Linked DNA regions of Homo sapiens: all the other regions are linked to region 1. Evidence: promoter capture Hi-C in 16 types of primary human blood cells and fetal thymus (Javierre and others, 2016). All regions are on one chromosome and are shown on one strand. The core of a region is centred on a gene start or on the middle of the fragment in contact, and the rest is flanking DNA. Distances in the headings are between cores, read along the strand shown. Region 1 holds the start of OGDH (oxoglutarate dehydrogenase). Region 2 holds the start of YKT6 (YKT6 vesicular SNARE protein). Region 3 holds the start of SNHG15 (small nucleolar RNA host gene 15). Region 4 overlaps CCM2 (CCM2 scaffold protein). Region 5 has its middle 41 kb from the start of MYO1G. Region 6 holds the start of NACAD (NAC alpha domain containing). Region 7 overlaps MYO1G (myosin IG).

Evidence for each region. The method cuts DNA at HindIII sites, captures the fragments that hold promoters and counts their contacts. A CHiCAGO score of 5 or more calls a contact.
Region 2: a contact is called between a fragment that was not itself captured here and the fragment with the promoter of OGDH in region 1, in 1 of 17 cell types (fetal thymus). The highest score is 6.2, in fetal thymus.
Region 3: a contact is called between the fragment with the promoter of SNHG15 here and the fragment with the promoter of OGDH in region 1, in 4 of 17 cell types (total B cells, fetal thymus, neutrophils and 1 more). The highest score is 9.7, in total B cells.
Region 4: a contact is called between a fragment that was not itself captured here and the fragment with the promoter of OGDH in region 1, in 1 of 17 cell types (naive CD4 T cells). The highest score is 5.7, in naive CD4 T cells.
Region 5: a contact is called between a fragment that was not itself captured here and the fragment with the promoter of OGDH in region 1, in 2 of 17 cell types (activated CD4 T cells and erythroblasts). The highest score is 6.3, in activated CD4 T cells.
Region 6: the fragment with the promoter of NACAD here is called in contact with the fragment with the promoter of OGDH in region 1 in 12 of 17 cell types (naive B cells, activated CD4 T cells, total CD4 T cells and 9 more); the score reaches 9.3 in naive B cells.
Region 7: a contact is called between a fragment that was not itself captured here and the fragment with the promoter of OGDH in region 1, in 2 of 17 cell types (monocytes and fetal thymus). The highest score is 5.6, in monocytes.

The regions. Positions count from the first base shown.
Region 1 is chr7:44,603,831-44,608,115 of GRCh38, forward strand. OGDH (oxoglutarate dehydrogenase) reads left to right here and starts at 2,797. Exons shown (of 23, transcript NM_002541.4): 1 at 2,797-2,823. RefSeq lists enhancers at 2,357-2,956, 3,208-3,771, 3,447-3,786 and a silencer at 2,997-3,226. The HindIII fragment of the contact is 8,395 bases long and covers 1-3,443 here.
Region 2 is chr7:44,198,529-44,202,361 of GRCh38, forward strand. It overlaps YKT6 (YKT6 vesicular SNARE protein), which reads left to right and starts at 2,450. Exons shown (of 7, transcript NM_006555.4): 1 at 2,450-2,711. The coding sequence starts at 2,608. RefSeq lists a silencer at 2,557-2,626. The HindIII fragment of the contact is 745 bases long and covers 1,596-2,340 here.
Region 3 is chr7:44,984,799-44,988,482 of GRCh38, forward strand. SNHG15 (small nucleolar RNA host gene 15) reads right to left here and starts at 1,898. Exons shown (of 3, transcript NR_152597.1): 1 at 1,727-1,898. SNORA9 (small nucleolar RNA, H/ACA box 9) reads right to left here and starts at 712; the gene lies at 580-712. RefSeq lists a silencer at 290-470 and enhancers at 997-1,743, 1,589-1,708, 1,744-2,491. The HindIII fragment of the contact is 12,531 bases long and covers 1-3,684 here.
Region 4 is chr7:45,030,332-45,034,444 of GRCh38, forward strand. The region is part of intron 1 of CCM2 (CCM2 scaffold protein); the gene reads left to right. Among named protein-coding and RNA genes, the nearest start is that of CCM2, 32 kb to the left of the region's middle. The HindIII fragment of the contact is 3,779 bases long and covers 1-3,341 here.
Region 5 is chr7:44,936,161-44,940,395 of GRCh38, forward strand. No RefSeq gene overlaps it. Among named protein-coding and RNA genes, the nearest start is that of MYO1G, 41 kb to the right of the region's middle. The HindIII fragment of the contact is 1,716 bases long and covers 1,106-2,821 here.
Region 6 is chr7:45,086,844-45,091,097 of GRCh38, forward strand. NACAD (NAC alpha domain containing) reads right to left here and starts at 2,126. Exons shown (of 8, transcript NM_001146334.2): 1 at 1,985-2,126. The coding sequence starts at 2,051. The HindIII fragment of the contact is 4,426 bases long and covers 483-4,254 here.
Region 7 is chr7:44,963,394-44,967,620 of GRCh38, forward strand. It overlaps MYO1G (myosin IG), which reads right to left. Exons shown (of 22, transcript NM_033054.3): 14 at 4,212-4,227; 15 at 3,279-3,445; 16 at 2,680-2,887; 17 at 2,244-2,467; 18 at 1,552-1,696; 19 at 1,022-1,126; 20 at 656-769. Among named protein-coding and RNA genes, the nearest start is that of MYO1G, 14 kb to the right of the region's middle. RefSeq lists an enhancer at 2,665-2,764. The HindIII fragment of the contact is 2,717 bases long and covers 1-2,630 here.

The sequences.
Region 1 (4,285 bases), core at 1,547-4,046:
TGTTTTTCAGTTACAATAGATCCCCAGGCTGCAAGTCACGTAACCTAAGTATGCCCAGATGAACAAAGTGTGCCTGATAGCTGACCCTGGTGTCGGTGGGAACACAAAAGTCAACCACAGGCAGGACTTAACCACTCAAATGGAGGAATGGACACCAAATTAGGAAGCATGGGGCGCCTTGTTTTGCTGCAATATGAACTTAAAAGCCAAAGATCCAGCATTGCCCCTTTGCATGACCCAAACAGATCACACCTTGTTGTATTTTCCCATCTCCCTCATAGTTGCCTTCTGCCTATAAAACCTGCCCCCAGATTCCATCTTGGGGAGACAAATTTGAGTATTGCCTCTGGTTTCCCTGCTGGTCGACCTTACGATAAAGCCTTTTCTCAAAAGGTGATGACATAGTATTGGCTTCTATGTGCATCTAGCAGTGAGCCCACTGCTTGGTACCACAATGGGCTCAAACATTTATAAGCCAATGTTCATTGCAACATTATTCAAAACAGCAAAAAAGCAGAAATAACCAAGTGTCCATCAATAGATGAATAAATAAACAAAATGTGGTATATACATACAATGGAATATTATTCAGCCATAAAAAGAAATGAAGTTCTGGCCAGGCATGGGGGCTCATGCCTGTAATCCCAGCACTTTGGGAGGTCGAGGTGGGTGGATCACTTGAGGTCAAGAGTTCAAGACCAGCCTGGCCAACATGGTGAAACCCCATCGCTACTAAAAATACAAAATAAGCTGGGCGTAGTGGCGGGCGCTTATAATCCCAGCTACTTGAGAGGCTGAGGCAGGAGAATTGCTTGAATCTACAAGGCAGAGGTTGCAGTGAGCCGAGATGACACCACTGCACTCCAGCCTGGGCAACAAGAACGAAACACCATCTCAAAAATAAAAAAAGAAAGAAAGAAAAAGAAAAAAATATTAGCCAGGCATGGTGGAGCGTGCCAGTAGTCCCAGCTACTTGGGAGGCTGAGGCATCAGAATCACTTGAACCTGGGTGGCAGAGATTGCAGTGAGCTGAGATGGCACCACTGCCCTCCAGCCTGAAACCGAGGGAGATCCTGTCTCAAAAAAAAAAAAAAGAAATGAAGTTCTGACCCATGCTACAACACAGATAAACCTTGACAACCTCATGCTCAATGAAATAAGGTGGACACAAAAGGACATATACATTATGATTTCACCCACATAAAGTAATTGAGTAATCAAATGTATAGAGACCGTATAATAGAGGTTACCAAAGGAGAGAAGGACAGGAGGAGAAGGGGAAATAGGAAGTTATTGCTTAATGGTTACAGAGTTGCTGTTTCAGGTGATGAAAAAGTTTTGGAAATTGAGTGGTGACGGTTGCATAATATTGTGAATGTAATTAATGCCACTGAGTTATACACCTAAAAATGGTTAAAATGGCATTAAAAAAAAAAAGACAGTATCTTGCTCTCTGGCCCAGGCTGGAGTGCAGTGGTACAATCATAGCTCACTGCAGCCTCAATCTCTCAGGCTCAAGAGATCCTCCTGCCTCAGCCTCCCAATTAGCTGAGACTACAGGTGAGTGCCACTACACCTGGCTAATTTTCTTGATTTTTTAGTAGAAATGAGATCTTGCTCTGTTCCCCAGGCTGATCTGGAACTCCTGAGCTCAAGCGATCCTCCCGCCTCCACCTCCCGAAGTGCTGGGATTACAAGCGTGAGCCACTGCACCCAGCTGCAAATGTTTAGTACATACATTTTTACCGTAATTTATTTAAAAAAAAAAAAGGAAAAAAGAATACAGAAGTTTGTTCCTTGGTCTCTTCACCTCTTCCAGTCTCTAGATCCTTGTCACATACATTACCCTAACTTTGTTCTATAATAAGCACTTATACGCCCCCTTTTTTTGTTTGTTTTTTGAGACGGATTTTCGCTCTTGTTGCCCAGGCTGGAGTGCAATGGCACGATCTCGGCACACCGCAACCTCCGTCTCCCGGGTTCTAGCGACTCTCCTGCCTCAGCCTCCCGAGTAGCTGGGATCGCCACCACGCCCAGCTAATTTTTGTATTTTTAGTAGAGACGGGGTTTCCCCATGTTGGTCAAGCTGGTCTCGAACTCCTGACCTCAAGTGATCCGCCCGCTTCGGCCTCCCAAAGTACTGGGATTACAGGCGTGAGCCACCGCGCCCGGCCTTTCCCCAAATTTTAATACTTTAAAATAGGGAACATCTTACAATCAACAGGTTGTGACAGGTTAATTAGCCACGTTTTATCTTTGATAGGTAGCTCTAAAGTCAAGAAAACCCAGGCAAGATCCCGGGCAAGATCCCAGCACTGCCAACTGTCATTTGTAGACCGGGGATAGGAACACCTGTCTCACAGATTGTTACACAATAGCGCCGGTGAAGCGCTTGTCACAAAGCCTGACCCAGGACAATCTCAAAAACGGAGATTCTGTTATTCAAATTGTTTATTTTTGTGCGCTAAGTTTCACATCAACCCAACTATCTCTTGATAGGTTCCTACCAGGCGCTAGAGATATCTTACTTTCAGAAATTATTTATGATAGCAGAAGCCGCTGGAAGTCCATAGACAACCTCATCTCTCTAGCGGAGCAAACAGCTGGGCTCCAGCTGGCCCTGGCTTCTGCAACTGCGCAGTCGGCGCTGTGACGCCCGGCGCGGCTCTGTGACGTCACGAATCGGTCCTCTGTAAGAGGGGAGGGCATTCTTCTCCAGGGGAGGGCTACGTGTTGACGCCATACGCCGGGGCGGGGCCGAGAGTTTGGAGCCCCGGAGTGGGGTGTCGGCGCCTCATTCGGGTGGAGCTGAGCCGGAGACAGGTAACCGTGCGCTGTCGCCGCGCCCGTCCCAGTGCCGGGTGTCGCGGCGCTTGGCGGCCCGGGGTTGGAGATCGCGGTAAAGGGGGAGGCCGCCGCGCCCTTGGTGCTGCGGGCGCCGCGGTGACAGGGGAGTGGAGCTGGATGGAGTGGGGCTCACGGAGGGTGGTAGGAGGGACGGGACCTGATGGATGGCCGTGGCAGCCAATGGAGCCGCGGGGCCTGCCCGGCGGGCGGAGATTGGCGGGTACGGGCGGGCTCCGAGGTCGCGCGGGGCGCGGAGCGACGCGCCATTGGCGGTGGGCGAGCGGGGGGCGGGCGCGGCGGCGGATGTGAGGGAGAGGGCGGTGCGTCCGCAGGGGTGACCCCCAAGGTCGCCGCGGGCGTCACGTGGTTAGGCCGCTCTCCGACGGCGTCCTTCCCGACCGGGACGCACTCTCCTTCCCGCCTGTGAGGACCGCGTCGCTTTGTCCGAAAGACAGTGTGGCCTGCTCGAGTTGCGTCGGAGCATCTGGCTTTGGGGTGGCCCTGGGTGGGACTGCCTGTTTGGATTACCGCGCAGACCTTGGCGCCGCCCCCACACCTGCTGCCAGAAGTTGGGTCGAACAGATTGACCGAGATGAAGCTTATTTCTCGTAGAAACATCTTTCAAGCACCATTTTCCCTCGAAAATATATCAGACATTGGATATGAGTTGTAATCTACTGAGATTTAATAGAAAACTTGCCGCGCCCTCGCCCTGACCTGGGTGCGTCCCACCTGCCATCCCCATCCCTTTGCCCAGAACATAGGACTTCGTGTTAGGGTTTCCTTGTGCCTTGTCTTGCAGTCCGTACTTTGAGGCTGATTTCCAGGTACACTGCTCTGAACAGCTGGGTTTAGGATGGGTGGCATGGGATAAAGCCTTTTTTTGTAAGGCAGCACTAGTTGCAACAGTCAAACTGTACTTTGCCGTGTAGACCTAGGAGAGTATGTAACACTATTGTAGTTTTGTAAATTAGCTGAGGACTGGATCTTGGGAAGTTGAATAAAGATCACTGTATGCTCATTTTTTGTTGTTGTTGTCTTGTTTGAGATGGAGTCTCTGTCGCCCAGGCTGGAGTGCTGTGGCGCGATCTCGGCTCACTGCAACCTCTGCCTTCCTGGGTTCAAGTGATTCTCCTGCCTCAGCCTCCCAAGTAGCTGATATTACAGGCACGCGCCATCACGCCCGGCTAATTTTTGTATTTTTAGTAGAGACGGGTTTTCACCACCTTGGCCAGGCTATTCTCGAACTCCTGACCTCAGGTGATCCGCCCGCCTCGGCCCCCAAAGTGCTGGGATTACAGGCGTGAGCCACTGCGCCCGGCCCCTCATTATTTTTTTTAAGCGCACTTTTCACATTTCAGTTACTTTTTCCCTTTAAATAACATCTTTATTGAGATAAAATTCACATACCATACGATTCACCCATTTGACGTGCACA
Region 2 (3,833 bases), core at 718-3,217, 410 kb before region 1:
TTCATGTGTTTTTTGGCTACATAAATGTCTTCTTTTGAGAAGTGTCTGTTCATATCCTTCGCCCATTTGTTGATGGGGTTGTTTGTTTTTTTCTTGTAAATTTGTTTGAGTTCATTGTAGATTCTGGATATTAGCCCTTTGTCAGATGAGTAGGTTGCAAAAATTTTCTCCCATTCTGTAGGTTGCCTGTTCACTCTGATGGTAGTTTCTTTTGCTGTGCAGAAGCTCTTTAGTTTAATTAGATCCCATTTGTCAATTTTGGCTTTTGTTGCCATTGCTTTTGGTGTTTTAGACATGAAGTCCTTGCCCATGCCTATGTCCTGAATGGTATTGCCTAGGTTTTCTTCTAGGGTTTTTATGGTTTTAGGTCTAACATGTAAGTCTTTAATCCATCTTGAATTAATTTTTGTATAAGGTGTAAGGAAGGGATCCAGTTTCAGCTTTCTACATATGGCTAGCCAGTTTTCCCAGCACCATTTATTAAATAGGGAATCCTTTCCCCATTGCTTGTTTTTGTCAGGTTTGTCAAAGATCAGATGCTTGTAGATATGCGGCATTATTTCTGAGGGCTCTGTTCTGTTCCATTGCTCTATATCTCTGTTTTGGTACCAGTAGCATGCTGTTTTGGTTACTGTAGCCTTGTAGTATAGTTAGAAGTCAGGTAGTGTGATGCCTCCAGCTTTGTTCTTTTGGCTTAGGATTGACTTGGCAATGCGGGCTCTTTTTTGGTTCCATATGAACTTTAGTTTTTTCCAATTCTGTGAAGAAAGTCATTGGTAGCTTGATAGGGATGGCATTGAATCTATAAATTACCTTGGGCAGTATGGCCATTTTCACGATACTGATTCTTCCTACCCATGAGCATGGAATGTTCTTCCATTTGTTTGTATCCTCTTTTATTTCATTGAGCAGTCGTTTGTAGTTCTCCTTGAAGAGGTCCTTCACATCCCTTGTAAGTTGGATTCCTAGGTATTTTATTCTCTTTGAAGCAATTGTGAATGGGAGTTCACTCATGATTTGGCTCTCTGTCTGTTATTGGTGTATAAGACTGCTTGTGATTTTTGCACATTGATTTTGTATCCTGAGACTTTGCTGAAGTTGCTTATCAGCTTAAGGAGATTTTGGGCTGAGACGATGGGGTTTTCTAGATATACAATCATGTCATCTGCAAACAGGGACAATTTGACTTCCTCTTTTCTTAATTGAATACCCTTTATTTCCTTCTCCTACCTGATTGCCCTGGCCAGAACTTCCAACACTATGTTGAAAAGGAGTGGTGAGAGAGGGCATCCCAGTCTTGTGCCAGTTTTCAAAGGGAATGCTTCCAGTTTTTGTCCATTCAGTATGATATTGGCTGTGGGTTTGTCATAGATAGCTCTTATTATTTTGAGATACGTCCCATCAATACCTAATTTATTGAGAGTTTTTAGCATGAGGGTTGTTGAATTTTGTCAAAGGCCTTTTCTGCATCTATTGAGATAATCATGTGGTTTTTGTCTTTGGTTCTGTTTATATGCTGGATTACGTTTACTGATTTTCGTATGTTGAACCAGCCTTGCATCCCAGGGATGAAGCCCACTTGATCATGGTGGATAAGCTTTTTGATGTGTTGCTGGATTCGGTTTGCCAGTATTTTACTGAGGATTTTTGCTTCAATGTTCATCAAGGATATTGGTCTAAAATTCTTTTTTTGTTGTGTCTCTCTCTGCCACCCTTTGGTATCAGGATGATGCTGGCCTCATAAAATGAGTTAGGGAGGATTCTCTCTTTTTCTTTTGATTGGAATAGTTTCAGAAGGAATGGTACAAGCTCCTCCTAAAATGTGGCACATATACACCATGGAATACTATGCAGCCATAAAAAATGATGAGTTCATGTCCTTTGTAGGGACATGGATGAAGCTGGAAACCATCATTCTCAGCAAACTATTGCAAGGACAAAAAACCAAACACCGCATGTTCTCACTCATAGGTGGGAATTGAACAATAAGAACACATGGACACAGGAAGGCGAACATCACACACCGGGGACTGTTGTGGGGTGGGGGGAGGGGGGAGGGATAGCATTAGGAGATATACTTAATGCTAAATGACGAGTTAATGGGTGCAGCACACCAACATGGCACATGTATACATATGTAACAAACCTGCACGTTGTGCACATGTACCCTAAAACTTAAAGTATAATAATAAAAAAAATGCTTACTTTAAAAAAAGAAAGAAAAGAAAAAAAAAAAAAAGAAGGGTTCAGGCCGCTGTGGGAGGCCCAGCACCACCCAGCACAAGACAGTACGGTATCCCGCCGCGCGCCCGACTCCACCTGGCGAGCAGGGAGGGGCCAAGCTTACGCGAGGCGTGGCATCCCGCCCCTCGCTGCATTGTACTTCCGGGCTCACATTTCTGCATCCGGAGTATGAGAACCCTCAACCAGGCTGACCGGATCCGGAAGTGGATTGCGAGCCAGGAGGAGGAAGCCGGCGGTGGCCCCGTCAGCAGCCGGCTGCTGAGAGGCCGGTAGGCGGCGGCGGTCCCGAGGGGCGGCGGCCGCGCTGCTCCCTGAGAACGGGTCCCGCAGCTGGGCAGGCGGGCGGCCTGAGGGCGCGGAGCCATGAAGCTGTACAGCCTCAGCGTCCTCTACAAAGGCGAGGCCAAGGTGGTGCTGCTCAAAGCCGCATACGATGTGTCTTCCTTCAGCTTTTTCCAGAGATCCAGGTGAGCGGCACAGGCTGGTGGGCCGTGGCGGTCGGGCGGAGAGGACTGGGGTGGGGGTCCGAGTCGGAGTGGGCCTGGGGTCGGCGGAGGGATGAGGGGAGGGTGGAGGAGGCCAAGGGTAGGGGCAGGGCGGGGTGGCCGAGTGCCCGGGGTCTGAGAAGGCTGGTGTCCGAGTCAGAGGCGGGGCGGGGTGGGGAGGGCCCGGGGTCTGCTGTCCGGGCTTGGTCTCCTATAATGGAATCTGGCCGTGGACTCTACCTTTGAGGAACCAACATTAGCTCTTTAAGAGCTTATACCATTCTAGAATATAGTTCTCTACTCAGTGTTTTTCAAATTTCTGTCGTGTAAAAATTTTAAGGAGACTGTGAAGTAGTGCAGATTTCCAAGCTTCATGCCAAGATGTTCTGAATTAGTAGATTGAGGCCTCGGTATTTATATTTTAGACCAACACTTCCCACCCAGTGATTCTGACTCTGGGAGCTTGGGTGCCGCATCTTGAGAGCCATATTTTGATTTTCTTGCGGGGCTTCCCAACAATTCTGTATGAGAGATAGTGATATACTTTTTTTTGTTTGTTTTTAATGGGTGAAGTCACTGAGGTACCAAGAGGTTATATCACAACCAGCTAGAACTGAAAGCCAGGTTTAACGCTTTTTAGTTGGACACTAGTGGTACAAAAGGATTCCACACGGAAGATGCAAATGAAGCATGGGATCTGTAGGGCTTACAGGCTTTTACTTGTTTCTGGGGCGCTTTAATTGCTGGAACGTGTTAGAAGTAACACAGACACTTCCAGACCATTCGTGGGAGGGATTGGGGTGACTCAGGCACGAAAGAAGGAGGACCCTACATGGTCGGTATCTATGGTCATCTTGTCTCAAAATCTGATGGAATCTGCCGTTTGGATTCTGTTTTCCCTGCTTCAGTGCAGCTGGTTCTTGATGAGAGTTCTTTGCCAAGGACTTGCTGGATGTAAAAAAAAAAAAATGTTATTTTGTTGAAACTTTCTGCTTCTTTGAGTTCTTTTAAAAAAATATTTTTAATTGTGGTAAAATGGTACACAAAATTTATCTTCACTATCTTTAAGCGTGTAGTGAGTGCATTGATATGAAATAGATTGAT
Region 3 (3,684 bases), core at 648-3,147, 380 kb after region 1:
TCTGGCGCAAAATAGGTGTTCAACATTAGCACCTTCCTCTTCCATGAGTTTTTCCTTTAAGATGAGCACACATTGACCTCACCCTCCACTAGCTCCTGGGGCACTCAGCTCCTCTGCAGAACTGAGACTTTGGTTCTCTTTGCTTTGCCTTGTAAATATCCTATTCCATGAGTCTCTCAGGGCAGGACTCTTCCCTGTTATTCCTCTTCACTGTTTCAACTCCTACCCTTACCACCACTCTTGGCTTCATCCTCAACTTTTATAAGACTTTTGCTTTAAGTGTATAATAAAATAAAATTTGTACTGAGCCTGGAGCACAGCAAACACTCAGGATTCCCTTCACCTTTCACACCAGCATTGTCCAAAACAACTTCCACAGCGACAGAAATGCCCTCTAATCTGTGCGGTCCAATATGGTAGCCACTGGCCACCTGTGGCTACTGATCATCTGAAATGTGGCTAGTGTGAAAATGAAATAAAACTCCAAATTTAATTTAATCATGTGTGCCAAGTGGCTACCACATTAGATGGCACGGATCTATACAAGGCCCAGGACACTAGATCCAGGAGGGAGGAAGTCATTGTCTGAAATTTCTATAACCTTGCTCTGGATGGAGCAGGGCAAGGCCTCAAACCGTTTCAAAACTGTTCTAGCAAGCACTGAAGGAATGCATAGGGTCACCGCAGACCCAAGCACGCTGGAGGCTTGCTACCCTCATTCACCCAAATCCCCCACACTCAAGGAATCTGGCAGTCCACTCTCACTAAGCACCAGTCCCTGCTGGGGGCTGTGGGAAGAGACCAGAGTTCAATTAGGCACCTGAGCTTGGTTCCAGGAGCCCAGAGCTACTAATGACTCTCAGGGAAAGATCCTTTCTGGCTGAGGAAGAAGGGAAGGTGTCTTGGAAGAGATAACCTTATTAAATTATTAAATAGATCAGACAACACGAACTAAACTTCCACATTATTCTATGACACTACAATTCTAGCATGGCTTTTCACTGTGACCAGAAACATCCTTATCATCATGTAGTTAATATAAATACTGCCTTTTCCCCTTCATTTTTTTCTCATGTATCTTACGGCTCAGAAATCACTTCTGAAGGAGTAAGTAGACCAGGCACATGAAGTAGATTTCATTTTCCCCATGAAATAATGGTTCAGAGAAAACGCAGGCCTAGTTCCAGGAAGGCAGAGTTGGGGTCTCTGCAACGTGATTTACCGGGGCATCTTGCAAAGGAGTTGCTGTGACAGTAAGCTCTTCCACTTTGAGACCGTCACCTCAGCCACGGCTCCCACCTAGAAGGGAACAAATGCAGTTAGCTCCAAACGCAGTTAGCTTCAGCTTGTGCCTCTGAACCATTATCCAGCTCTAGCTCCTTGCAACGCCTGGCCCACTCTACAGCCTCTCTTGCGGCAGGTCTACACGCCACCCCATGCCTTCCGGTGAGGTCCCTCCTGACCACACGTCCCATCCCACCTACTGGGGTCCACCCAGGTCATGCAGAAGCCCCACTTCTCGGCTGAAAGAGAAGCACGAGGTTACTCATCAAGTAATCCCCGAGTCTCCTCCGGGTAAAATGTTCCGAACGCGCTCAACCGCCTCTTGAGAGGAAGTAGCACGTGTAGTGAAGGCTTGGTCTCCAAGAATCACTGGTGCCCCCACTCACTGCGGCCCAGCCTCCCACGCCGCCCGCCACTGAACCCAATCCCCCAGGACCCCTACCTGGGCTCAGGAATGGTCAGGCAACACGTGGGGCCCAGGATGGCGGTGGATGACTAGACTGCCGAAGACCGCGCCGCTGCGACTACGAAGTACGGAGTACGGAGTACAGGTCTGCCAGCCAAGACTGACGCCGCGCGCTGCGCCGCGCACCTCGACGTCACCGCGTAGTCCCGCCCCGAAGCCGTGCGTGGCCGGGGCCACAGCGTTTGGGGTAGATGACGTCACGCGGCCGCGGGCGCTCGCTTGGTAGGGTGTGCTGGGGCGTAGAGTTTAGGGTCCTGAGGCTGCGTCTGCGTGTCAACTCAGTGGAGTCTCTCGACCGCCCTTTGTTACCCTCCTTTAGTGACCAGAAGGCTGGAGTTACGTAATCTGCCCCTACAGCTAAAAGGACGGAGGCCTGACGGCGTGGCCTGGAGGGACGCGCTGAGCCCCTAATGGGTGGTGCCTTCCTGGTGCGGCCGCACAGGCGGGGCCGGGCGGAATCCAAGCACGATGTGGACACGGAGCCTTGGGAATGAACAGGAGCCTGCCTGTGGGAGCATGTGGGAAAGGTGATGCAGGTGGAAGGGCAAATACAAATTATACATAGGGTTTAATTTTCCCTGAGGAAAAGAAGGGACGAGAAACCATCCCCCTCCCTTTTTCTTTCAAAATTTCAGCCTCTCTCCTTTCCAAATGTACTCAAGTCTTTTTCTTATATGGCCAGGTTCAACTCAGGAATGTTTCTTGGGAGCCATCTCCTTGAAGTGTAATTGTTGGCTGGGTGCGGTGGCTCACGCCTGCAATCCCAGCACTTTGGGAGGCTGAGGCGGGCGGATCACAAGATCAAGAGATCGAGACCATCCTGGCCAACATGGTGAAACTCTGTCCCTACTAAAAATACAAAAATTAGCTGGGCATGGTGAAGCGTGCCTGTAGTACCAGCTACTCGGGAGGCTGAGGCAGGAGAATCGCTTGAACCCGGGAGGCGGAGGTTGCAGTGAGCCGACATAGCACCACTGCACTCCAGCCTGGAGACAGAGCGAGACTCTGTCTCAAAAACAAAGAAAGAAAAAAATGCAATTGTTAAGGGACGAAAGGGCCAAGAGTCCAGCTTCTTAGGAGGACAAAGGCTTAACTTGGCACCTGACTCCAAATTGCAAAACCTACATAATGTGATGGGCTATCTCTACTTAGCTGCATAGAAAAAGTGAGTTTCTGTCTTTGTGTTGCCTTTAGCAGGTTGCATGTGATGTACGGCATCACAATCTGGTTTAATACTTATTCAGTAATGGTTTTCTGTCTCTTCTACCTTTGTGGAGAGGTTTCATGGGTTGGGAGGAAACTACTCTCCACCCCCCACCCACCCCCAGGCAGAGGAAAGCACATTGAAAGGTCCTGAAATTGGGAAGGACATGGTTTGCTGGTGATACAGCTAAGTATTACAAGTTTGTAGTGTTCTGGAAGGGTCTCAATGAGGAGCGGGAGATAAGGACGATGTGTTCAAGGGTCTTGAATGATCAGGCTAGAAAAGTGAGAACGTGGTTCTATAAGTAAAAGCAGAGCAGTGCTTGAAACTCGTATTTTATGTATTGCACCTAGTAAATACATTCAATCACTTTACAGTATACAAATCCCATACTTCACTAAGTGTCAAAACCCTAACAGACAGATAAGGCAGAACTGTTACTTCCAGATTACTAACGTGGAAACTAAGCCCCACCCAAACAAGTTAAGTGGTTTGTTCAAGACCTCCTACAACAGGCTGGGCGCGGTGGCTTATGCCTGTCATCCCAGCACTTTGGGAGGCCGAGGCGGGGAGGCGGGTGGATCACCTGAGGTCAGGAATTTGGGGCTAGCCTGACTGACATGGAGAAACCCGGTCTCTACTAAAAATACAAAATGAGCCGGGCGTGGTGGTGCCTGCCTGTAATCCCAGCTACTTGGGAGGCTGAGGCAGGAGAATTGCTTGAACCCAG
Region 4 (4,113 bases), core at 202-2,701, 430 kb after region 1:
AAATTCTATGTGTCCATCTATAGTACATTCTAGTGAGTTAAAGAACCCATGATGGTTTACTGGAATCCTGATTCTGTACATTAAAAATATGCTAAACCATTTAATTATTTCCCTCGTTCCTTCCAGACAGGGTCTCACTCTGTTTCCTAGGCTGGGTGCAGTGGTGTGATCACAACTCACTGCAGCCTCAACCTCCCAAGCTCAAGTGATCCTCCCACCTCAGCCTCCTGAGTGCCTGGAACTACAGGCTAATTTTTAATATTTTTTAGAGACAGGTCTCGCTATGTTGTCCAGGCTGGTCTTGAACTCCTGGCCTCAAGCGATCCTCTTGCTTTGGCCTCCCAAAGTGTTGGAATTACAGGTGTGAGCCACTGTGCCTGCCCTCAATTTATTTTATTTATTTTTTTCTTGAGACGGAGTCTCACTCTGTCACCCAGGCTGGAGTGCAGTGGCGTGATCTTGGCTTACTGCAACTGCTACCTCCCAGGTTCAAGCAATTCTCCTGCCTCAGCCTCCCGAGTAGCTGGGACTACAGGTGTGCACCACCATGCCCGGCTAATTTTTGTATTTTTAGTAGAGACGGGGTTTCACCATGTTGGCCAGGGTGGTCTTGAACATCTGACCTCAGGTGATCCACCTGCCTTAGCCTCCCAAAGTGGTGTGATTACAGGCGTGAGTCATTGCACCTGGCCTCGATTTATTTTTTAACTAGAACTTTCCTTTAAATTTATTTTCTTTCTTTTTTTAGATTTAAAGAGAACAGGGCCTTGCCCAGGTGCAGTGGCTTACACCTGTAATCCCAGCACTTTGGGAGGCCGAGGTGGGTAGATCACTTGAGGTCAGGAGTTTGAGACCAGCCTGGCCAACATGGTGAAACCCCATCTCTATAAAAATACAAAAATTAGCCAGGTGTGGTGGTGCACACCTGTAATCCCAGATACTCGGGAGGCTGAGGCAGGAGAATCGCTTGAGCCCGGGAGGTGGAGGTTGCAGTGAGCCGAGATCACACCACTGTACTCCAGCCTGGGCTGTATAGTGAGACTCCAGGTCAAAAAAAAAAAAAAAAAAAAGAGGGCCTTGCTTAGTCACTTAGGCTGGAGTGCAGCGGGCAGTCATAGCCCACTGCAGCTTTGAGCTCCTGGGTTCAAGTGATTCTCTCCCCCCAGTCTTTCAGGTAGCTAGGACTACAGACGTATGCCACCACGCTCAGCTTTTTTCTTTTTAATTAATAATTATTATTTGTTTTGAGATGGTCTTGCTCTGTCACCCAGGCTGGAGTGCAGTGGTGTGATCACAGCTCACTGCAGCCTTGACTTCCTAGGCTCAAGTGATCCTCCCACTTCAGCCTCCCAAGTAGCTGTGACTACAGGTGTGTGCCACCATGTCCTGCTAATTTTTATGTTCTAATTTTTGTATTTTTTTTAAAAGATGAGGTCTCACCCTGTTGCCCAGGCTGGTCTTGAAGTCCTGACTCTAGTGATCCTCCCATCTTGGCCTCCCAAAGTGTTGGGATTACAGGTGTGAGCCACTGCGCCCAGCCATCAGCTTAAATTTTGTGTTCAAAAGCAACTTCTTTTCCAAAAATCTGAGGTGGCTTCTTGTTCAGTTTTGTATCTGGAATAGCAGAGAGCTCTTCCCCAGCACCGGCTGTCCCTCCTACCACCCCCTGCAGCTGAGAGCTGAGCAAACATTACCTCTGAAAAGCCCCATCATCCTCAGCGAGAACAGCAGCTACCCTGCATTCCGTGCTGAATGGGTAGGAGTGGCAGAGGGAGGCTGCAGCAGATGTGCAAAGATGCATTTCTTTACTTAATAGTGTTAATATTCCACTTTCTAGGAAGGCTTACCCATCAATTAAAATTATTTGAGACATTAAAAAAAGAAACTTAGGGTAGCTGCTATTGAAGACTAAGGACTAGGGCCAGAGAGACGCCTGCCTCCAAGTAGTCCACAGAATCTGCTTGTTAAAATGTTCGTGATTTGGAGGCCCAGGTAGAAGGGGCAGGTTCCTCTGAAGCGCCTTGGCATGCCCTATCTTTGGCGTTCCGGGGTCGCCCTCCTCTGCTAGTCTGTGAGCAGTCAGAAGGTTGTATCTCCTGTTCATTCCTCTCCTTGTCTCTTGCTGCTCAGAACAGCAGCTTTAAGAACAGGGTGGCTGAGCCCTAAGTGTACCTTTGGAGCATCCTGTGTGTCTTCAGCATTGATTGACTGTTTTTACTGTGGATTTAATTTCAGTTACTTTACTCTGGTCTTACTACTTCGGCTTGACTGTGACATCGTTGAGGGCAGGGGCTGTGTCACCTCTAACCAAAGGGCCTCCCCAGATGCCTAGCCTGGTCCAAGCGTTCCATCAAGAGTCAGTACCAGCGTTTATTGCTGTCCAGTCTGTGCAAGCTCCATGCTGGCTGCTGGGTAAGAGCCAAGGGCAGCCAGGCCTAATGGCTCATGCCTGTAATTCCAGCACTTTGGGAGGCTGAGGCTGGTGGATCACCTGAGGCTGGGAGTTTGAGACCAGCCTGGCCAACATGTTGAAACCCCATCTCTACTAAAAATACTAAAATTAGCCAGGCATGGTGGTGGGTGCCTGTAATCCCAGCTACTCCAGAGGCTGAGGCAGGAGAATTGCTTGAACCGGGGAGGCAGAAGTTAAGTGAACCAAGATTATGCCATTGCACTCCATCCAGCCTTGGTGACAAGAGCAAAACTCCGTCTCAAAAAAAAAAAAAAAAAAAAAAAAAAAGAGCAAAGGCCAGAGGAGGAAAGAGCTGAGCTCGATGTAGGGAAGAATTGATGTGATGCTTGGGCAATAAGAGGCATCTACAGATGGCCGTCCTGGTTTCCTTGCCCTGCAAGAGTTCCTACTATTTCTCACTGCCTAACTGCAGAGGGTCTCTCTTTAGGGGTGGGATTGTAGGACGGGGGAGCGCCAGAGTCCTTCCCAGTGCAGACTGTAATTCTGTGTGGAGACTATAATTTTATGACCTGTACATCAACATTAAAATAACAGTGTAGGTTGCATGTGGTTTGTGGGACCTGTTGATTTGGTGTGGGCTTCTTGGTTAGAGGTTGATCTTGGCAAATCTCCTGTCTCAGAGTTGGTTTCCTGTTGCTCCCATAGGTAGATTAGTAACTAGTTTGGCTAACAGGCAGCTTTCAGAAGAGCCAACAAATGGAGCCAGGCTGCTTGCCCACACTGTCAGATTCAGAGCTCAGTCACTGTCCATGACACAGCTAGTTATCATTTAGGAGGAATGAGCTTTGGGGGCTAGCAGGCAGAAATGGTTTAGGGACAGCCATTTTCCTGTGGCTGATGTGAGATTATCCATGTCTGTGGAGATGCAAGCTTCCGAAAAGCTGGGCTCATGGGCCAAATGCCTCTGTATTTCCATAACCTCCAGGCCAGGGTCTTGCACATCATAGGGCCTGGGAGAATAAGTGAGTGGTCAAGCATACACATTTGAAAAGTAATTCATGTGCCATCTGTCACTTGAGAGTGCCAGAAGAGAGGAAATCACAGGCAAGCAAAGCCTGGTGTGTTTTTAGTGAGGCTAGAGAAACATGATTTTTTGCATGGCTAAAATTGCATCACTAAATTTTGAGGGCCGTTTTTAACTTACAGTTTACCATGATTTCTTGGCTGACAAATCATAGGTGACCATTTCTCACCATTCTCCCATGAGAACCCCGCACTGCAAACTACCTGTCATGTCCAAACTTGTCCTGGGGCTCAAAGCTTGTCAGGGATTAAGGAGAATGAAGCCCGAAAGTGCCTTAGGGACATCCTGTCTTCACTGCTGTCATAGAGCCAGGGCCTGGGCAGCACAAGGCCACATGCTTTCTGAGCCCAGGCCAGTCCCAGCAAGCTCTTATGGAAGCACTTTTTTTTTTTTTTGTTTTGAGACGGAGTCTCTCTCTTGTTGCCCAGGCTGGAGTGCAATGGTGTGATCTCAGCTCACTGCAACCTCTGCCTCCCGGATTCAAGCGATTCTCCTTTCTCAGCCTCCTGAGTAGCTGGGATTACAGGCATCTGCCACTACACCCAGCTAATTTTTGGTATTTTAAGTAGTGACGGGGTTTCACCATCTTGGCCAGGCTGGTCTCAAACTCTTGACC
Region 5 (4,235 bases), core at 714-3,213, 330 kb after region 1:
GTTAAGGAATGGCGATAACTGCTTTTACTCCCATGATATCGTTCTCCCAAGGTGAGTCTTTAGAATGGATGCTTTTGTTGGATTGGCTTCTTCCCTGTTTATTTGGGGGGAACCGTTTTAGAAAAGAGGTTATACTTTCTTGTAAGTCCTGGGGCTGGCATCTGTGCTTCGTAGCCCTCTTTGAAGCTTTAGGAATTCTCAGGTTTGACACTGGCACAGCAGCCCTTGTAGAGAGACGGCCCAGGACCGCTCGTCCCCTGTTCTTGGGTCTGGCAGCCTGTGACTGACCTGGTGTCCCTCATGCAACCTCACAGAACAGAGTCAGGGTCACAGCACTGTCATGGCTGCACCATGACCTGGCAGTCATTCTGAGAATTGTGGGTGACCACAGGAACATGCAGCAGCCTTTTATTTCAAATAAGCTCCAATAAGCTCATTGCTTGGAAAGAGTAAACTGTGGGGTCTGCAGCTTAGAGGAGACATTCTGGGCTCCTTCACTCACTGTCAGAGAGCAGGCTATCTGGGAGCATCGAGTTTGATTGCTTTTTGTAGTCTAATTTTTTTTTTTGAGATGAGGACTCGCTCTTGTTCCCCAGGCTGGAGTGCAATGGTGCAATCTCAGCTCACTGCAAACTCTGCCTCCTGGGTTCAAGTGATTCTTCTGCCTCAGCCTCCTGAGTAGCTGGGATTACAGGCGTAAGACACTGTGCCTGGCCCTAATGTTTTATTATATTTTAGTATTCAGTGATTTTACTGAAATCTATCATAGTTTAAAAGTTTTGTGAGCGTCATCTCTTAACAGACAACTGTCTTGCAAATAGAAAAATAAATAAATGTAAAAAAAAATTACTGAATTGATTCTTTGAATAGCCAAGGAAACTTTGTGGTTGTGTTATAAAATTACATGTGACAAAATAAGTTGAAATTCTGAAGGCTGTTTTCTCTGGGCTGGTGCTTGGCAGTCTCCCCAGCACATTCATGAATGCCATGTCAATACTCCAGGCTGTCTCCATATTTTAGAAATTCCAAAATCGATTTGAGATTTGTAACTACATTCTATAAGAAGGCTCCTGTGAGAGTAGAGTCAAAGAAAAGACTTTCTAGAAGCTTGAGAATAATGCCCTTCTCCCAGCCCTCCCCTGCACACCTGTCCCATGAAGTCAGGAGGGTGAGACTTACAGGCATTGATCATCTGGAGACTTCTGAAGGCAGGAGCAGGGTAAGAATCGAGGCAGAGTGCAAAGAGAATGGGAAGTACTGTTCCCTAGAGACAAGGACTTACTCCGATTTGAGTCTTGCATTTCTCACTGGGCACAGGAGAGGCCCTGGTGTTTCTCTGGCCTAAAATGATGGAGCATAGGGTGTAGCCAGTGGAGCAGAGGACCTGCTGCCCCATGGAGGGCCTCCAGGCTGAGCAAAGGGCTCCCCAAACAGAAAAGAGGTGGAGGCACACACGTCTCAAGGGGCCCATGGGCCGTGGCTGCTCTATTCTGGTGAAGGGCGTCCTCCACATGAGAGAGGTCAGCCCCCCAAATAAAACTGTGCATGGTCACATAGCAAGCCCCCTGCCAGCTGAGACTGCTGCATCTCCCACCCTCTAACAGCGTCAGTGACAGATGGGGCACAACTGGGCAGGAACCAGAATCATCCCCTCTTCAGCCACAACATTGCTGGGCCCCAGGTGGATGAGAGACCCTGAGGGGGTAAGACATTGGAAAAAAGATAGAGGGGATGAGATGGCATATCACCCCTCACAGACACATGCACATTAACTCTTCTCCAAGACACAAGTCTGAGCTGAACGGCAGTGGGAGCAGAAGTGGGGACCTCTGAATAAGTATAAAAGTGGATTTTCTTAATTGTCTGGATTAGTGAAAATGACCAAAAAGCAATGGCCATGACTTATAGATATGTGTGTTCCCATTACCTAATGATACCATCTGCTATAAATTTCTTAGCAGGTATTGTACCAATAAAAGCATTATTAGAAGCCATTAGAACAATGACTAAAATAATTATGGTATCAATCCTAGGACTGAGTGAGTTGGGCAGCCTACCAGGGTCTTATCTACACTGTAAAAACAAAACCTCTTACCCTGCTCTGAGTTACTAAAATGGAAACTGGAGACTTCTTTCTCCACTCCTGAATCTGAGCCACGTCACAAAGTGGGACCCATTGAAGAAAGGTGACCCTGGGGCATGTCCACAGAAATGGGCTGTGACTCTCTCTCCTAGGTGTTTCCAGAGGTGCTTGCAAGACAGCTGTGCTCTGGGGAAAGGGGAATGAGCAAAGACCCAGAGAAACCTCTGTGGACCACAAATCAGAGAGGAGCAGGTGGAGGTTGAGGAAGGTGGTGCTGTAGTGGGCCCAGTGTTCTGCAAACCCACCTTCGGTAATTTCCCAAATTGTTCATAGATGTCAGGAATAGACATACTTAGTTACTTGCCAGAAACTCTGCATTAGGGGCCGATGAGCTAGAGCTCTTCAGCTAAACTGGTTATATGTATGTAACATCTGTATCTATGTTGCTATATATGTCTATATGATCATATATACATGTTGCACGTATATATTTGTGCATGTACATTCATGTGACAAAAGAAATAGAAAGATCAATTTGACCTTTTGAAGACACAAAATTTAAAAATACAATGCATTTGTTGGAAAGAATCTAGTATATAAGAAATGTGTAATGTTCAGGGGAATTAATCAACACAAGCTGTGGTTTGTGTCACGTTTTAAACTTAATGATATCTGTAGACCCAATGGATGGCAGAAATAGAAATGAGTATTGTCCATATTTAATGATGAGGAACTTGAAGCTTTCCCACTAAGATCAGGAACAAAGCAAGGATGTTCCCTCTCACCACTCTTTTTCAACATTGTACTGGGCAACCTGGCTAATGCAATAAGATAAGGAAAGAAAACAAAAGGTATACAGGGTGACTTTTTTTTTTTGAGCGTCTTGCTGTGTCACCCAGGCTGGAGTGCAGTGGTGTGATCCCAGCTCACCACAACCTCTGGCTCGCGGATTCAAGCGATTCTCCTGCCTAAGTCTCCCAAGTAGCTGGGACCACAGGTGCCCACCACCATGCCCTGCTAATTTTTTTTTGTATTTTTAGTAGAGATGGGGTTTCACTATGTTGGCCAGGCTGGTCTTGAACTCCTGATCTCGTGATCCATCCACCTCAGCCTCTCAAAGTCCTGGGAATTACAGGCATGAGCCACCGTGCCCAGCCAGGATGACTTTTTAAAAAAGAAATAAGGCCGGGTGCAATGGCTCACGCCTGTAATCCCAGCAATTTGGGAGGCCAAGGTGAGCAGATCACCTGAGGTGAGGAGTTCAAGACCAGCCTGGCCAACATGGTGAAACCCCATCTCTATTAAAAACACAAAAATGAGCCAGGCGTGGTGGCGGGCGCCTGTAATCTCAGCTACTCCAGAGGCTGAGGTGGGAGGATCGCCTAAACCTGGCAGGTGGAGGTTGTAGTGAGCTGAGATTGTGCCACTGCACTCCAGCCTGGGCAACAGAGCAAGACTCCATCTCAAAATAAATAAATAATAAAAACTAAAAAAGAGATAAAACTTTTTAAAGATGGCATGATTGTCTATGTAGTGAATAACAAAAACAAAAACAAAACCTCCTGAAGCTAATAAACAATTATAGCAAGGTTGTAGGATACCAGGTTAATCTATAAAAGTCAAATTGCTTTGTTATATACCAGTAATGAACAATTGAATTTTTTAAGAGACAGGGTCTTACTTTGTTGTTGCCCAGGCTGGAATGCAGTGGTGTGATCATAGCTCACTGTCACCTCAAACTCCCTGGCTCAACCAGTCCTCCCCTCAGTCTCCCAAGTAGCTAGGACTACAGGTGGATGCCACCATGCCCAACTAAGTTTTAATTTTTTCTGTAGAGACAGGGTCTCGCTATTTGCCCAGGCTGATCTTGAACTCCTGGCCTCAAGCAAGCATCCCAACTAGGCCTTCCAAAGCACTGGGATTACAGGTGTGAGCCACTGCACTTGGCCTGAAATTTTAAATTAAAAAGACAGCATTCATATTAGCACCAAAAAAAAGGGGGGGGGGAGGGGAAATAGGTATAAATCTAAGAAATATGTACAAGTTCTATATGAGAAAAACCATATAACTCTGATGAAAGAAATCAAAGAACTAGATAAATGGAGAGATACCCCATGTTCATGGACAGAAAGAGTCACTATTGTCAGGATGT
Region 6 (4,254 bases), core at 876-3,375, 480 kb after region 1:
CCCAGCAAGAGCACAGGACAGCTTCAGAGGGCCAACAGCAGCCTCTGGCTGAGTCCTCTCCTTGGTGGCAGCCACCCCATGGGTGACCACCAGTTCCTTCCCGGGTGCTGGGAGTTCCCACCCTGCCCTGTGGGCCTTCTCTGGGTCCCATGATGCACTCCCCCAACCCGCTGGGCAGGCTTCAGTATGAGGAGGCTCTGGTACTCAGTAAACGTCTGTGAGCTAACACACCTCCAGCTGAGAAAGGAGTCCATAGGAAGTAGCCCTCATGGGTCAGAAAGGACTTAGGGGACTCAGGAAGATGGAAGAAAACCCCTCCGAGGTTGCGGCACACCAGACCGCTATGGTTTTCTGCCTCCTGGACTCTTACTGGCCTGTATTTTATCACAGGCGAGATCACATTGCACATTCAGTTTTGAATCTAGCTATTTTCACCCAACCTAATCTCATAAGCATTTTCCTGTGTGCTCTAAATGCTCATAAGCTTCATTTTAAATGTCTCCATTATGTCCACTCCCTCACTTGGACCTAGGCCAAAGGCACCTCTGTTTGAAGCATCCAATGAAGGCCCTTCAGAGCCCAGGCCAGGTCTTGCCCAAGGTGGGGGAGCGGCGGCACACAGGGGCCAGCTCTCCAGGCTGCAGATGCCTGCCTGGTGGCTCCTGCTCTCCCGCACTCACTGGTGACCAGGACAACATCTCTTGCACCTCAGCTTTCTCATCTACAAAGCAGAGCCAGGATTAGAGTTGAAGCTGAAAGAAGGGGGACCCTGTTGCCAGGCTGCTCCAGCTCCCCTCAGCAGCATCAGAGCCCTGAGCCCTGAACCACCAGCCAAAACTTGTCACCCAAGGGCTTTGCTGCTGGGGTGATGGGACATCCAGGGGGTCCTGAGACAAGGGGGTCCTTTGGGTTCTTGCATGCCTGACACCCAACATCAGGAGTGGGCGTGGCTGGTGGGGCATCACTGGGTGCCCTGAAGCTGGGCTCTTGGTTCTGGCCCCTGGTGTGGCCCCCAGGGCAGGGGAACGGCTGAGCTGTTGGGATGGAGCAGAAACCAAAGGCCAAAGGTTTTTATAACTCATTCAAGGTCACCAAGCAAGCCAGAACAGAGCCAGCACAAGACCCTGGGGCTGGGAAGTCTGGGCCTGCACTCCCTGCCTCCCACCTAGAGCAGAGGCAGCAGCCTGTGTCACCCCAAACCAGGCCCCAGGCCCCAGCAGTGGTCCCATCTCTGGGTGACTTCTTGCCCACAGCAAGGTGCCCTTGGCCCTACCCACACATGGCTGACCTCCACGCCAGGACTGTCCAGGCTCGGCTCTTTCTAGGCCCCGTAGACCCCATCAGCCTCCACCAGCATTTGTTGACCCAGCCTAAGGACAGGTGGTCTGCACACCCAGGGCCATTGCTAATCAGGCCACCTCCCCCAAGGCCTTCCACCTTCCAGACCCAACTTAGGCTTTATTCCACCACCTGGCCCTCCATCCGGGCTTCCTAGGCTCTGGCCAGTCCTGCTCCTCCCTCCAGAGCCATGACCAGTCGCCGGCCCAGGACAGACCGGGTGCAACTGAGGACCCTCCCGGTGGTCACCTGATCGTACTGGGGGTATCAGCCGGACACCCCGCCTCCAGAACCCGCTGCCTCTGTCCAGAGCGGCCCAGCCCCAGCAGGCTGGCAGCTCGGTGCAAACAACGGGATGCAGCGGGCGGGATGCGAGCCCCACGATCCCTGGGTCGGAAGCCAAGGGCTTAAGCCCCCACGTTCTTTCTGGCTCGCGGCGGGCACTTCGTGCGCCCCACCTTCCCCGCAGTTCTGAGAGAGGCGGTAGCAGGGTTCAGATGGAGGGAAGGACAGGGCGCGGAAAGGGGAGGGGACTCGAGGGGGGCCAGGGGGATGGGGGAGAGGGGTGAAAGGTGAGCGATGGAAAGAGAACCCGGGCTGGAGAGGGGAGAGGCTGAAGGCAGGGAAAGAGTGGCCACGGCCTCACCTGTGCGGGGCCCGGGTCGGTCCGCCTCGGGCAGCAGCAGCTCGGCGCGGGCAGCCTCCCCAGGCATGGCCTGGCCGTGCGCCCGCCCGTCCCTCAGTCCTTCCGACCCTCCGTCAGTCCGTGCCGCCGCCCCGCCGAGCCTGCGCGGCCACCGCCCCTCGGCCGGGCGGTGGGGGCAGTGGGTGACGTCAGGCCGCCCCGCCCGCCTGTCCCAGCGAGTGAGCGTGCGCGGGCTCGCCAGGCACTGCGGAGGGCGTAGGGGGGGCTCCCTCCCCGCCCCCACCCCACCCGGCTGTGGCCTCCCTCTCGCTGTGGGCGGTTTCGTGGGGGAGCGGGGGTGGGCGCCTGCGCCCGGTCCCACCCTTTCCACAGCATTTACGAGGGAGGGTTTCAGGGCCAATTGGAAGCTGGGTTGCCTCAGGGTGGCATTCGCCCGTGGCCAGGAAGAGGCGGGGACGCCCCTAGAACCCTGGTTGTGGGAGGCTGGGGAGGTGGTTGGGATTCTGGGATGCTCGGAGCGCTTTGGGTGGAGTTGGCGGCGCAGCCTCCTTCCCCGCTGACCAAGCAGAGGGTGCAGGGCCTGGGGAGGGAGGGGGCCCCGCCCAGCCCGATGCCTCCATGCAAAAGGTGAGCTGGAGCTGCAGCTCTGGAGTGATTGGCTGGTCCTGGCAGTCGTCGGTCTCCGTGGCAACCGCCTCCTGTCTCCATGGCAACCAGGGATGGAGCCGACGAGAGCGCACCAGGGAAGGCGACCCGGATGGGTCGGTCTCCAGGTCTCTAGGCAACTCGGTGATCTGTCCTATCATCTCCCCTCCACCCCCACACTAGGCAGTAGAAGGAAAAGGAAGAAAGTGTTTCCCTCTATTCCTGGCAGCACCCTCTGCCACACCTCCCAGGAGGAAGCCCGCCCCGTGAATTTCCTGAAATGCCTCTTGCTTTCACACAGGCTACTGCGCCACCCAGATTCACTGAGCACCCCTCCTCCCCCGTGCCAGGCACCAGGGAGACAGATGAATGAGACATTGTCATCACCCCTGACTGGGGTGGGGGGAATCAGAGTAGCCATTGTCACAGGCAGGGAGGGAGGTTTCAACATCCTCAGTCTTCTGTGGGTTCTAACTTTGAGCTCATGAAGCCAGGGGCTGCCCTCTGACTCCCCCAGACCTGCCTCAAGGCTCAGTGCTACACACCTGGCTGCCTGCTGGGCATCTCTCCCCGCTGTACCCCAGGAGTCAGACACACCACACCATTAGAATTAACATCAACTTCAAACAATCTCTTCCAGAAAACAAAAGAGAAGGGGACACTTCCTAACTCATTTTATAAGGCAAGAAATATCCTGATGTCAAAACTAACAATGTGTCGCCAGGCGCGGAGGCTCACGCCTGTAATCCCAGCACTTTGGGAGGCCGAGGCTGGCGGATCACGAGGTCAGGAGATCGAGGCCATTCTGGCTAACGTGGTGAAACCCCGTCTCTACTAAAAATACAGAAAATGAGCCGGGAGTGGTAGCGGGCTCCTGTAGTCCCAGCTACTCAGGAGGCTGAGGCAGGAGAATGGCGTTAACCCGGGAAGCGGAGGTTGCAGTGAGCCGAGATCGCACCACTGCACTCCAGCCTGGGCGACAGAGCGAGACTCCGTCTCAAAAAAAAAAAAAAAAAAAAAAAAACTAACAAAGTGTCAATACACCCCAAGACCCCCAAAACGAAAACTGCAGACCAGCATCTCTCATGAATTCAGGCACAAAAATTCTCAATATTGGCAAATCAAATATAATGATGTATAAAAAAAATACACCATGACCAAGTGGAATTTATTCCACGTATGCAAGGCTGGTTTGACAGTTGAAAATCAATCAACAATACTCCAGAACACCAACAGGCTAAAGAAGAAAAATTTTGGTATCAGTTGACACAGAAAATGTGTTTGACATAACCAACATCATTCATGATTTAAAAAAAAACACTTTCAGCAAGTTAAAAATAAACTTGATAAAGATCTTATATAAAAAACTTATACAGCTAACATCATACTTAATGGTGAAAGACTGAATGCTTTTTAAGATTGGGAACAAGGCAAGGGTGTCCGCACTCACCACTCTTTTCAACATATTATTGGAATTTCTAAACCTTGCAATAAAGCAAGAAGAAATAAAAGGCAGATTGACTTCCAGAATGAAAGCATGGGGAGTTCTGCTGAGCAGCTCCCCAGTGAAACTGGTAAAAATTATTATTATTAATTTTAATTTTTTAATTTGAGATGGAGTCTTG
Region 7 (4,227 bases), core at 22-2,521, 360 kb after region 1:
CTGTGGATGCTAAGCCCTTGCATGTGCTACTGCCTGGAGGAGCCGTTTTTAGTTCTAGGTCACTTTCACTGCATTTAAACAACCACGCCGGCTTTGGGCTGTGGCATTACACAGCAAGGCACTCACCGCCCTTTCTATTGGGACAGTCATGGGACCCCTGAAACTGTGGGAGACCCAGAGGTAGCCTGGCCTTGATCCCTACCCCCGTCTTGTGGGAAAGAGAATTTATGGGAACAGCAGCTGCTAATGAAGGGAGCAAGTAGGCCACAGAGCTCGGCAGAAGGTTCCGGAGTGGCCGGGACGGTATCCCACAGGAGGCCCAGAACATTGTGGTGGGTACTCAGGTCCCAGAATGCCCAGGTGGGAGAACCCCAGTTGGGCACAAGTTGGAAGAGGGGACCATTTGGCTTGGCTAGAGTGTGAGAGTGGGGGTGGGGGGTGACTGGGCTGGTGGGGATCACAGGATGGGACCTTTCACTCTGTGGGCGTGGGAAGCCACTGCAGGATTTTCAGCACGGGTGCCACCATCGCTGAGTTTTAGGATGGTCTGGGCCATCTCAGGTAAACAGGGGAGAGAAGACTGAGGCAGGACTCTGAGCAGCCCAGCAGTGCCCCTCACAGATGCTGCACCCTACTCCCCACCCACATTGCTCACCGCCTCAAGGGGCACGGCCCGCATCACCCGGTACTGCCGGTCAGGGTCCAGCTTGTAGAGGTGCTGGTCTGTGAGCAGGAGGGCCCGGTTCCGGATCTTGTGGAAGCGGTTCACCTGTGGGAGAGGTGGCTGGACCCAGGCTGGTGCTGCCCTGTCACCCACCAGGGCCCCAGGCTTCGGCAGTCCCTACTGCCTCCCCTCCCCGCTGGCGACAGTTTTGGGAGTGTCAGGAGCAGCTGGGCCTGGGCTGGGGTTGCCTCCATTTTCTCCCAAGTGCCCCCCCAAAACTCTGCACCAGCTTCTAACCTTGCAGACGTGGCTAGAAAAAGAGCACAGCCCTGAAGCCATCCTTGTCCCTTGTCTAACCTTGCGGACATGGCTTGAAAAGAGCACAGCCCCGAAGCCATCTTTGTCCTGAAGTGTCTTTAGTCGCTGAGCAAACAGGCTTGATGCTGTGGGATTGTCAGTGGCCTGAGGACAGATGGAGGGGAGGGGGCGCTGCTTGGGATTGAGTCATGGGACCAGACTCAATTGATAGCAGCTGTCTGTGAATCAGCATAGCTATCCTTCATCTCGGGAAACTGAGTCACACAGACTTGTGCGTGAGCTGAGCAGCCCTGGATTTCCTGAGGGCACAGAGCCCTCTTGTGTTGACTTCTAGGCTGCATCTGAGCCTGGCCCTCCTGTCATCCACACCCACCCCCGAAGGCCACTGCTCCTGAAGCCCAGGATGAGACCTTGCAGAGCTCTGGTGGGGGCTGAGGTACAGGGCCACCAGGACAGACAACCCCAGGCCTGGGAGAGGACATCTGAGGGGACCTGGTCACAGCATTAGCCGAGAGCCCTCTTTGGCAGCCCACTTCCCCCTGGCAGCCCTGGACTCGCCTGGCACTTACAGAGGACAGGTAGTCTCGGGCCCAGGCCCGTCGGCAGCCCCAGTCCTGACGAAGCCCTTGCAGGGCCCCCATGGCGGCCACCTTGGCCTTGATCTGGGGCATGTCTGAAGGGGGGATGTTCTTCACCAGCTGCCGGGCCCGCCACCTGGGAGAGGGCATGTAGTCAGACAGATGCTGGCCATGTGTTCATGTGCTCCCTGAGCCCCCTCTCCACAGAGGAAGCTGAGCCCTCAGCCTGGTGCTGCCTGCCTTTCATGTCCCAACCTCTGCCGGCCTCTCTGGCCTTGGCCCCTTGTGCCTAACGCTTGTTCCTGGAAGGTGACCCAGGGACCAGCAGTCGCCCAGTGTCCTCCTGTTCTGAGCATGCTCTGTGCCCCTCCTTCTGGAGAACTCCTACTCAGCCCTCAAGACCCCGCTCAGATGCAGAATCCCCTTACTTCCCAGCCCTAATGGGCCTCCCCCTGCAGGCTGCAGCCCTGGACCTTGAATGCCCACCACAGTACCCAAGATGGTCAGGGCTCTGCACCAACTGTGGGACATGAGCAGTCAGCTAATGTGGCATAGCATCCACCTTCCCACCTATCAAGGGGGCTGGTGTATCTCCCATCCAGGCACTGCAGGCCCGGGATGATGGGTTAAGGTATTCAGTGGATGCCAGCTGAATGGAATGTGTGGTGGGCTGAGAGTAGTACCTGCAGAAGAGTGCGTGGCAGGTGTCCTGGAAGGGCTGCAGCACAGCAGGGGGCAGCGGCCACACAAGGTCACGCCCGTAGAGTGGCGGCTGCCTTGCAGCCTGGAATCGCCGCTGCAGCTCAGCCAGGTGAGCCCGCACCTTGTGTCTCCGGAACCAGCGCATGATGGTGTAGATAGCCCTCAGCCTCCGGCAGCGCCACCTCGCCAAGGTGCCCCGCCATGCCTGGGTGGGCCAGGTGGGATGGGATACGCAGTCAAATTCAATCAGGCCCTAACCCTTAGACCCAAACCTGGCCCTGAGCATTTATTGAGCACTCCCTGGCCTGTCTCCATCAAGCAGAGACTCCTGTGAAACTTACAAGTGTGTTTGTGGCCCCTGGGACACAAGCTTTCCCCACCTCCATAGTGGATGTCTTCCTGCCCCGCCCACCTCACCTTCTGCAATAGCAGCACAATGATGGGGATGAGGCGGGCTCGGCTCTGCTCCAGTGTGACCAGTGTCCGGGGTGAGCGGATGAACAGCTTGCTGTGGCCAAAGGCCACGTCCCCCTGCAGCCCGTGCTGCTCCAGGAGAGCGCTCACGGCTGCCTTGTCGGAGCCCAGCAGGTGGTTGGGCCATGTGTATTCACAGGTCATCTTGTACCTGTCACCACAGGACAGGGCAGTGTGGCCCAGGCCTGGGGGAGAGATGATGGAGCCCACCCTGCCCACCCCACACCTGGGGAGATGGCAGGGATACAGAGTGTGTTCCTGGAGCACTTATGACACCTGTGCACATATGTCTTCCCATACACATGTCCTCACATACATGTCCTCACACAGCCCTCATACCCATGTTCCCACCTGTATGTCCCCACATGCATGTGCTCACACACATGTCTTCCCAGATATTTTGGTGTCTTGAGGCCAGCAGCGTGCTGGTTCCTGCTTGTATCGATGTTTGCGACGTGCTGTTTGGGGACCCTCTGCTCCTACCCCTTGGACTCCACACAGGGACTATGGCCCATGGAGTGATGGGTGTCAGGTGCCAGTACCTGAGCAGGAATCGAGAGTAGGGCTGGCGGGAAGCGAAGCCAGCCCTGCGGACCCTCACATTCTCCAGCAGCCCCAGGTATGCGACCTGGTGGCGACAGTGGTTCTCATCCAGCTTCCCAGCTACCTTGTCCTCATTGGGCTTGATGCAGCGGACGTAGAAGGGCTCCTGCAGGGACAGAGGGGACTTGGAGAGGGTCTGCGCCAGCAGCACTGTGCACCCTGCCCCACACCAGGGGCTTCCTAACCCCTCAAGGTCCCAGGCCAGGAGAAGAGTTGGGAACAAAGAAGGGAAATCAGCAGAACAAGGGCCCTGGAAGCCCTAAGTGCTGGGCAGAGGCCAGCAAGGCCAGGTTCAGAGCCAGGTTCCAGCCCCTGGTCGGGGGGTGGGGAGGTGGGCGTGGCAGGGGCAGGAGCAGGCCTCGCCCCATCTGCCTTCCTTCTCTCCTTCCAAAAGGGGCTGACATCTCTGGATGTTCTGTAGTTAAGCTCACCCTAACATGTCCTCTCCCTGACCCTTCACCTGTTCCTCTTCTGACTTTTGACCCAAAGCTCCCCAAGAAAGCTTGTGCCAGTTTCCTGTCTCTCTGGCCCCACCTGCCAGAAGAATCCTGGGTTTTTGCCAAGAGCTGGGCTGGGCCAAGCCAGCCTCTCAGCAGGGTCTCCCCAAACCCCTCCCTGTTCAAGAGACAATGGGGCGAGGAGAAGCCTGGGTTCCCCATGATTGATCAAGCCTCAGCCCAGCCCCTGAGGCCCCACATCTCACCTGTGCAGTGGGTGGGGTCCACTGCTGGAGCAGATGTGGCTCATACAGACAGGACAAGAACCCTCTCCCCACCACTATGATGTACAGAGGTGGTTGGGACCCTACTTGGCACCGAGGGCACAGAGAGAAGGATCCGGAACAGCCAGAGTGGGAGAGGGGTGGAACATACCTTGGAGGCAAGGTTC